Regions from separate parts of the Homo sapiens genome. Here regions 1 and 3 are each linked to region 2. The links are contacts of gene promoters, found by promoter capture Hi-C in blood cells and fetal thymus (Javierre and others, 2016). All regions are on one chromosome and are shown on one strand. Each heading gives the region's core, a stretch centred on a gene start or on the middle of the fragment in contact. The rest is flanking DNA. Distances are from core to core; before and after follow the strand shown. Region 1 holds the start of CNN2 (calponin 2). Region 2 holds the start of MIDN (midnolin). Region 3 holds the start of POLR2E (RNA polymerase II, I and III subunit E).

The links. Contacts are between HindIII fragments. The CHiCAGO score rates a contact against its expected background, and 5 or more counts as called.
Region 1: a contact is called between the fragment with the promoter of CNN2 here and the fragment with the promoter of MIDN in region 2, in 17 of 17 cell types (monocytes, M0 macrophages, neutrophils and 14 more). The highest score is 35.5, in monocytes.
Region 3: a contact is called between the fragment with the promoter of POLR2E here and the fragment with the promoter of MIDN in region 2, in 15 of 17 cell types (monocytes, neutrophils, naive CD4 T cells and 12 more). The highest score is 15.7, in monocytes.

Annotation. Positions count from the first base shown.
Region 1 is chr19:1,025,337-1,028,036 of GRCh38, forward strand. CNN2 (calponin 2) reads left to right here and starts at 1,272. Exons shown (of 7, transcript NM_004368.4): 1 at 1,272-1,388. The coding sequence starts at 1,326. RefSeq lists an enhancer at 198-929 and a silencer at 920-1,559. The HindIII fragment of the contact is 13,555 bases long and covers 1-2,700 here.
Region 2 is chr19:1,247,320-1,250,019 of GRCh38, forward strand. MIDN (midnolin) reads left to right here and starts at 1,264. Exons shown (of 9, transcript NM_001388306.1): 1 at 1,264-1,341; 2 at 2,571-2,700. It overlaps LOC102723811 (a long non-coding RNA gene), which reads right to left and starts at 753. Exons shown (of 2, transcript XR_007067082.1): 1 at 694-753; 2 at 1-542. RefSeq lists silencers at 718-1,257, 1,348-1,807, 1,868-1,987, 2,018-2,487, 2,668-2,700 and an enhancer at 1,341-1,874. The HindIII fragment of the contact is 31,339 bases long and covers 1-2,700 here.
Region 3 is chr19:1,094,125-1,097,001 of GRCh38, forward strand. It overlaps POLR2E (RNA polymerase II, I and III subunit E), which reads right to left and starts at 1,251. Exons shown (of 8, transcript NM_002695.5): 1 at 1,135-1,251. The coding sequence starts at 1,191. RefSeq lists enhancers at 1-437, 1,195-1,284. The HindIII fragment of the contact is 25,451 bases long and covers 1-2,877 here.

The sequences.
Region 1 (2,700 bases), core at 22-2,521, 220 kb before region 2:
TTCCTCCAGCCCCAAGCCTCTCATTCTGTCCTGTACTTGCTCATATAGGGAAACAGGGTGGGCGGGGTGGGGGGGTTCCGCCTGTGCTGGCTCATACAGGGAATCCGGGTTGGGGGTTGGTCTGTGCCAGCTCTGTCTTCCTGGGCATGGGCTGGGCCAGAGCTAAGGTCTCCTGAGAGCCAGCACTGCCTGGCAGGAGACTGTCCCGGAGACTTTTTAATAATTTATTATTATTAGGGTTTTTTTGTGTTTTTTTTTTTTGTTTTTTTTTTTAAGACGGAGTCTTGCTCTGTCGCCCAGGCTGGAGTGCAGTGGCGCGATCTCGACTTACTACAACCTCCGCCTCCTGGCTTCAAGTGATCCTCCCACCTCAGCCTCCTCAGTAGCTGGAATTACAGGCATGTGCCCCCATGCCCGGCTAATTTTTGTATTTTTAGTAGAGACGGAGTTTCGCCATGTTAGCCAAGCTGGTCTGGAACTCCTGACCTCAAGTGATCCGCCCGCCTCGGCCTTCCAAAGTGCTGGGATTGCAGGCGTGAGCCACTCGGATTTTTATTTTTATTTATTTATTTATTTTTAGAGAGAGGCTCTTGCTCTGCTGCCCAGGCTGGAGCGTCATGTTGTGATGATAACTCACTGCAGCTTCGACCTCTTGGGCTCAACGGATCCTCCCCCTTCGGCCTCAGCCTCCCAAGTAGCTAGAACTCCAGGTGCAAGCTACCGCACCCAGTAAGAATCCTATTCTCTTTTGGACTGACAAACTCCTACTCATCCAACAAAGCCCCAGCTCCAATGGCCCCTTCTCTGAGGAACCTGCCCTGGTTCCCTGGTCCACCTCCCAGCTAGTAGAGTTCCCTGGGAAGGGGTTAGACGCCTCTAAGTGGCAGAGAGGGGCCCTCATTCCTGCCCCAAAGGTAGCCTTCTCCCCTCCCCTTTCTGGCAGAAGAGAAGTCTGAGATGGAGAAAGAGTGAGAGCCGCCCACGAGCTCTGAGCAGAGAGCCCGCAGGAGTGCCACGTCCCGGCGGCCTCGGCCCCTCCCTGCCTCAGTTTCCCGTGGCATCAAAGGGGGCGAGGGGCCCCTCCAGGCCTCTGGTGACGGGGGTGCTGTGCCCAGGCGGGGGTCCGGGGGCGACCGAGGGGGCTCAGGAAGTCCGCGGCCGCAGGAATTCGGCGCCTCCAGGCCTTATAAGGACATTTGCGCTCCGGGCCAATCAGCGGCGGGGGCGTGGCGCGCGGAGCCCGGCGCGTCCCAACCCCGCGCCAGCCCGGCGGTCCCGTCCCGTCCCGTCCTGTGCGGCCCCGTCCCGCCGCCCGCCCGCCAGCCATGAGCTCCACGCAGTTCAACAAGGGCCCCTCGTACGGGCTGTCGGCCGAGGTCAAGAACCGGGTGAGTGAGGGGCGCCCCTTGTCCCCCCGACAGCGCGGCCGTCGCACGCTCCGACCGGTGCAGGAGCCCCCAGGCGCCCCCGGCACCTCCCGGGCAGGGAGCTTGGAGACCCGGGGCGGACGGGCCCTTGTTCTCCCTGACGCCTGGTGGGGGGATGTCTGCGGGCACCCCCTGAGGCTCCCGCGAATCTTGGGGAGCACCCAGGTCTGAGATCTGGGGGACGAGTGACCCATTCCCCCCCCCAACATCTAGGGGTAGTTGGGTCTGACTTCGTCCCCTCGCCATGGCCCCAGGACCCCCACGTGTGAAGCCCCTGGCGCCCACTCAACCTTCGAGAAGGTCCGTTCAAGGTCCGACAACGCTCTGGGGGTCTGGGGGGGACCCCAGCAACCCCGTCATCTCCTGGCCACACTTCTGCTTTTGGGGCCTCTTAGCTTTGGGAGGGGAAGGGGCATGGCCGAGTGGTTTTTGAGAAGTGTTACCCCCCCACAAACAGGAATTTCCTGGCCTCTGGGACACCTTGGGGGTGTCTTGGGGGGAGGGGCGGTAGCCGCTTTGCACGGTCTTTGTCTCCCATCTGACTAATTTAAACGGATAACAAAGAGGTTCTCTGAAGGTGGCCCTGAGATATGTGGGGTTTTGCAGCCTCGAAAGAAGAGCTGGGGCCCGGCAGGGCGCGGGGGCTCACGCCCGTAATCCCAGCACTTTGGGGGGCGGAGCTGGGTGGATGGCTTGAGCCCAGCGAGTTCGAGACCAGTCTGGGCAACATGGCGAAACCCCATCTCTATAATTAAAAACAAGCCAGGGCTAGGGGAGACACTTTTTAAGAGAGCACTTGTGGTTCTAGCTCAGAGAGGACCAGACACTTCTGCAGGGTCACACAGCAGGGTCCTGGACAGGATTCCCAGGGAAAGTGGGGGGCGGGGGTTGTGATGCGAGACCCACGGACAGGACCGGGACCTGACCCTCCAGGACCTTCCAGCTGGAGGGGGGTGTCGTCCCCGCCCACCCCCTCCCCCGACGCCCACTGGGCACCTGGGAAGGTGTCCTTACAGCTGACTTCTGCAGGGGAAACTGCCTCTGCACGCTCTGAGGGCACCGGCCCTGCCAGCCCCAACAGCCACCTGCCCGGCGGCACTCCAGGGCCGGCAGACTGGAGGGAGAATTCCTGCTTCCCCGCTGTGAGCCCCTGCAAGCCTTCAGACCAGCTCTTGGCCAAAAAGGGAGGCTGAGGCTTGGGGTGGTCAAGGCCTGAGCCAGGGTCCCCAGCCCGGGGCTCACGACTCCTCCTTCAAGGGGCCATCTGCACCCT
Region 2 (2,700 bases), core at 14-2,513:
AGACAGGGTTTCACCATGTTGGCCAGGCTGGTCTCAATCTCTTGACCTTGTGATCCGCCCGCCTCGGCCTCCCAAAGTGCTGGGATTACAGGCGTGAGCCACCGCGCCCGACCGCATCATCTTTTTTATGTGACAAACTCCTAGTCATTCCTCAAACCGCAGCCCCTGTGACCCCCTTCCAAGGGTTATCCCAGCCTCTCCCTCTCTGGCCTAGCCCTGACCCTTCGGGGCTGGGTGTGCCTGTCAAGGTGGGGGCCACGGCTGCCGGGAGCATGGGTGGCAGCCGGAAGGAGACCTGGGGAGGAGCGCAGCCCTGGGAGGGGCGCCCATGGCCAGGGTGGGGGTGGAGGTGGTCAGGCCAGATAAAGGGAGGGGCCAGATGAGTGGACAGGAGGTGCTCCCGTAGGAATGGGGTCCCCTTCTCTAAATAGAGGGGCAGGACGGGGCCCACCTCAACCAGGACCATCCTCAAAAAGCCGACGGGGAAGGGTGAGATGCACACCACATTCGTGTCTCATTGGCTGTGGCCTCAGTTTCTTCATCTGTAAAATGGGGTAATGCCCACCCCAAAGGCTGGGAACCAGTGCATGTCCTGCATTAATGGGGGGTGATGGCCCCAAAGTGATCCTGCCGCATCCCCTCACCACACTCCCACCCACCCTGGAGAAACTGAGGCTTGGAGAGGCCAGTTACCTCCCGGGGTCACAGCATAGCCGGCTGGTGACTGGCTGGGCACAAGGCAGGCCTGGCACTGGCTAATCGCTCCATAAATGCCCTCTGAGGTCACCATTGACAGATGCAGGAGGCCAGGGCTGGCCAGGGCACCCCCACTCTACGGCAGGTGACTCCAGCCTGTTTTCCTGGACGACAGCCGCTGACTCAGGCCCCTCTTCCCGTCCCCCCCACGCGGGCGCCCCCAGGCGGAAGCACCGGGCCTGGGGCGACAGGAAGGGGGCGGGGCAGCGAGTCGCGCTGTACACCCCAAAACCCTGTCCCGCTGACGATTCGGGGTGCATCTCAGCCCGCGGCGAGGCGGGCCGAGACCCTTGGCTCGGGGCATTCAAGGGGAGTCCCCCCATGAACTGCGCCAAGCCTGGGTCCCGGGTGGCCCAGCCGTCAAGGCGCCCCAGGGCCAGGGCCGGCAGGCAGGGGCGGGGGCCAGTCTGCGTCACCGCCCGCCCGGCCCCCCGCCCCCCTGCCCGCCCTAACTCCACCCCGAGGGAAGGCGGCGCGGATAAAGGCTGAGGGCCGCGCGCTTGGCCCAGACCGGCCCGGCCAGCGCGCATTCGGCCCCGGACGAAGGTACTCGCAGCACTTGGAGCGCAGAACCGGCCGCGCCCGGTGAGTGTGGAGGGGGGGGACCTGCGGGCCGAGGAAGGGTGCCCACTCTAGATGGCTCAGGATGCCCGCACTTTTCTTTGTTCTTGGGACAGGAGGGATCGGGGAGCCTCCGGTCCTGGGAAGCCCCCCGGGGTGCGGGGTGGGAGGGGCTCCGCGCAGCCAGCGCCGCCCTGGCCGGACCTCAGCCCCCGCCCCGCCCCCCGGGGCACTCCCCCTTCACCGCGGGTGACCTTGAACTGGTTGCCGTTCCGCCCTCCGTTGCCCAGCCACACGGTCCCAGTCTCCCGACTACAGTCTTTCGTTCCCGATCGGGGTTCCTCCCCCGCGCGCAGCCCAGTCGTCTTCCTCCCCTGCCAGGGGCAGCGCGGCGCCCCCTCCCCGGGACTCCGGGCGGCGCTCCCAGGCGGGCCCGGCAGAGGGCGCGCCCGAGCTGCTGACTCACCGCATCCCCGAGCGCGCGCGGGCGCAGCCGGGGACGCCGCGTCACGTCACGGCTCGAGCGGGCGCGCCTCGGGGAAACGGGTTCTGCCCGCGGCCGGCGGGTGGGCGCGCGGGGCCCCCGGCGGCAGCCACCCGGCCACGTCACCGAGGTGCGGGCGCCCCGCCCCGGCCACAACTCCGCCCCCACGCACCACGCCCTCCCCGGGGCCGCGGCCCTAGCCTCACCGTCGCCCGCCCGCCCCGGGACCCCGGCCACGAGGCGCGGACTTCGCGCTCCCGCTTCCGCTCGCGGCTTTTCCCGGACGAAGGCGGCGGGGTGGCCCCACGACTTCCTGCCCCTCCCGGCGCCGGGAACAATGGCCCGCGCCCCCTCCCGCTCCCGGCCGCTCCCTTGGGATCGCGAGGGGTACCAGACCCGTCTCCAGACCTGGGTCCCGCGCCCCCCGGGGCGCGCCCGCCCTTTGTTGCGGGCTCCGGGCGCTTATGAATGGCTGCGGGCGCGGGCGGGGCGGGGGCGGGCGCGGAGAGGCGCCAGCCCCGCCCCCGCTGCGCTCCCCTTGGTCGCCTGGGCGCTGGGGGCGGGGCGAGGGGGCGGGCCCGGCTGCCACGTGGGGCGGTGCCGCGGCGGCTCTCATAGGCCCGGGCTCGCGGCCGACTGGGCGCTCGGCGCGCGGCGATTGGCCGGCGCCCGGCCGGCGGAGTAAGTAGTGAATGGGAGGGGGCGGCGGCCCCGCCCCCTGGAACGTTGATACATTATAACTTTTTTTTCTTGTTACTTTCACCCCCAGATCCTCCGAGCGGCGGCGACGGCTGTTGCTAAGGGAGGGGACGCGCGAGGAAGCGCGACCCGGGCGGCAGACGGCACCCAGCGCCACCAGCCGAGCGGCGCCCCCTCCCCAGGACCCTTAACCGCGCCGC
Region 3 (2,877 bases), core at 1-2,500, 150 kb before region 2:
CGGCCAAAGCTCGTGACCCGGAAGTCAGACCTGCGGCTGCTGCAGAGGACAGAGGTGAACAGCAAACGGGATGAACACTCACTGTGTGCTCCATGACAGCCACCCCGGCCCCCACAGCCTCACACCACAGGATGGGACCAGTATGATCCTGAGAGGCTCCCAGAGATGTCCAGCCTTGACCAAGACCGTCTGTCCACCCAGCCTCACAGAAACCTGGCAGGGAGCAAAGCCCTCCAAACCACTTTGCAGAGCTACCCTAAAGGCAGGGACAAAGGCGGGGCGCGGAGGCTCACGCCCGTGATCCCAGTACTTAGGGAGGCTGAGGCAGGAGGGTTGCTGGAGGCCAGTTCAAGGATGCAGTGAGCTATGATTGCACCACTGCACTGCAGCCTGGGCGACAGAATGAAACCCTATCTCTTAAAAAAAAAAAATGACAGGGACCGAAACAGATGTGACTTCAGGCTGACAATGTTTGAGGATCGGAGAAAGAAGAATCAGGCTGCGGGGGGCTTCGCTGAGGACAAGGGCAAAGGGTGGGAAGCAAGACAAAGCAAAAGCTCTCAAACGGCCCCAATGGCTGAGGCAATACCCTGAACCGCAGGTCCTCAGGCCTGTGCCCGGCTTCCAAACCGGACTCGACCCAGTGGCCTCCATCTGCCCCAGACCCCAAGGCACGGGTTCCGAGCTCCACGTCCCCATCGAAAGCCCCAGCTCGCCCGCTGCTTCCCAACCACCAACTCTGCCAGCCTCGGATGCTGAAGACTCCATGGGGTTCAGGACGCAAGGACAAATAGCGACGCTGAATCACAGAGAAGGGCAGAGTCTGGGGGCGCCCCCCGTCCCCATTCGCGGCTTCCTCCTCCTCTCGCCGCCACGCGCGCCGCACCAGCCCAAGCCGCCCACCCACCCCTAAGCACCGCACCCAGACGTCTCGAAACCCCCTCCCTTCCCCGCTGCCGGCTCAGGTCGGGTCCAGCGCCTGGTATCCCCGGCGACCTCTGGGCCTCCCGTATCGGCCCGGCCCTTCATCGCTGCTGCTCCGACGAGAGTACGAGGAGACGCCGTGCTCGACCCCACCTCGGGCCCCTACACCCGCCGCCCGCGCCCCCGCCCCCAACACCAGGCGCGGCTCACCTGCATGATGGTCTTGCGGATTTTCCAGAGCCGGTACGTCTCCTCCTCGTCGTCCATGGCAGCCTCCGCCGCCGCCGCCGCTCGCACCCCTTCTCCGCGCGAGAACCCGCGCGGACTGCGCCTGCGCCGAATCCGAATCAGGCCCCCTCCGCCTAACCCCGCCCCGCGCTGGTCTGTCGTCGGCGAATGCCTGAATGCAGCAACGTCTCGGATCGGCAGCGCCAAGGGCAGCCCGAGCCTTACGAGAGCGGCAGTTGGCTGAGCGAGTCTCTCGCCTCCGTAGTTCTCGTGTGTCTTTGGCCGCACAGCCTCTCGGGAGTTGTAGTTTCCGTTCAACTCCCACCTTGGAGCAACAGTTTAGAATCCCACGAGGCGGGGGCGAAGTGTGAGCGGGGAAACTGAGGCCTGGATGGGGTCAAGGGGCAGCTCGGCTCCTAGGGATGGTCTGGGAGCCTAGTGGGAACTCTATAAATATTTGTGCATCAAACTGTACAGGGTTTCCTCCATTGGCTCCTGGCCAGGTCAGGGTTAATTCCCTTGGGCCTCAGTTTCCCTACCTGTGCAATGGCAATAAAGTGTCCCTACTTTAGACGGTTAACTGAGAGTCTTAGGCATCTCTCTAGGTGCTTATTAAGTCCCCTCACCTCTGTCCTCTCCCCTGAGCGCCACCAGCCTAGCCTGGGTATCTCCCCAGCCTAGCCTGGGTATCTCCCCACCCCAGACTCTTCCTGTCTTTGCAAACCTCCTCACTTCCCCAGGTTCACGGAGAACCCCAGCCCAACACTTCCTGTGTGCAGGCTATCAGTAACTTATTCAGTGATGCATTCGTTAATTCAACATTTACTCAGCAACCTACAGTGATGGTGAATAAAACAGGCCAAGTATCCCTTGCATTCAGATAAAGACAGGATTTAGTAAAATATAATAAATAACGTGGCCGGGCGCGGTGGCTCATGCCTATAATCCCAGCACTTTGGGAGGCTGAGGCGGGCAGAGCATGAGATCAGGAGTTCAAGACCATCCTGGCTAACACGGTGAAACCCCGTCTCTACTAAAAATACAAAAAATTAGCTGGGCCAGGTGGCAGGTGCCTGTAGTCTCAGCTACTTAGGAGGCTAAGGCAGGAGAATCTCGTGAACCTGTAAGGTGGAGGTTTCAGTGAGCCAAGATCGTGCCACTGCACTCCAGCCTGGACAACAGAGCAAGACTCTGTCTCAAAAATAAAATGAAATGAAATAAAATAAAATAAATAACAACGTTAGAAAGTGACAAAGCTACGGAAGAAGAAAGAGCAGGGAGGCTAAGTGACATGGGGAGAATGGGAGAACTGCAGTATCACATGGGGAGGTCAGGGAATACAGTGAGGATAGATTCAAGCAAAAATCCCATTAGCAGTGGTGGCTCATCACTGTAATCCCAGCACTTTGGGTGGCCGAGGCAGGCAGAGCATGAGATCAGGAGTTCCAGACCAGCTTGGCCAACATGGTGAAACCCTGTCTCTACTAAAAATACAAAAATTAGCCAGGTTTGGTGGTGGGTGCCTGTACTCCCAGTTACTCGGGAGGCTGAGGCAGGAGAATCACTTGAACCCGGGAGGCGGAGGTTGCAGTGAGCCGAGATCGCACCACTGCACTCCAGCCTGGGTGACAGAGCAAGACTCCATCGAGAAAAAAAAAAAAAAATCCCATTGGGCGCGATAGCTCACACCTGTAATCCCAGCACTTTGGGAAGCTGAGAGGGGAG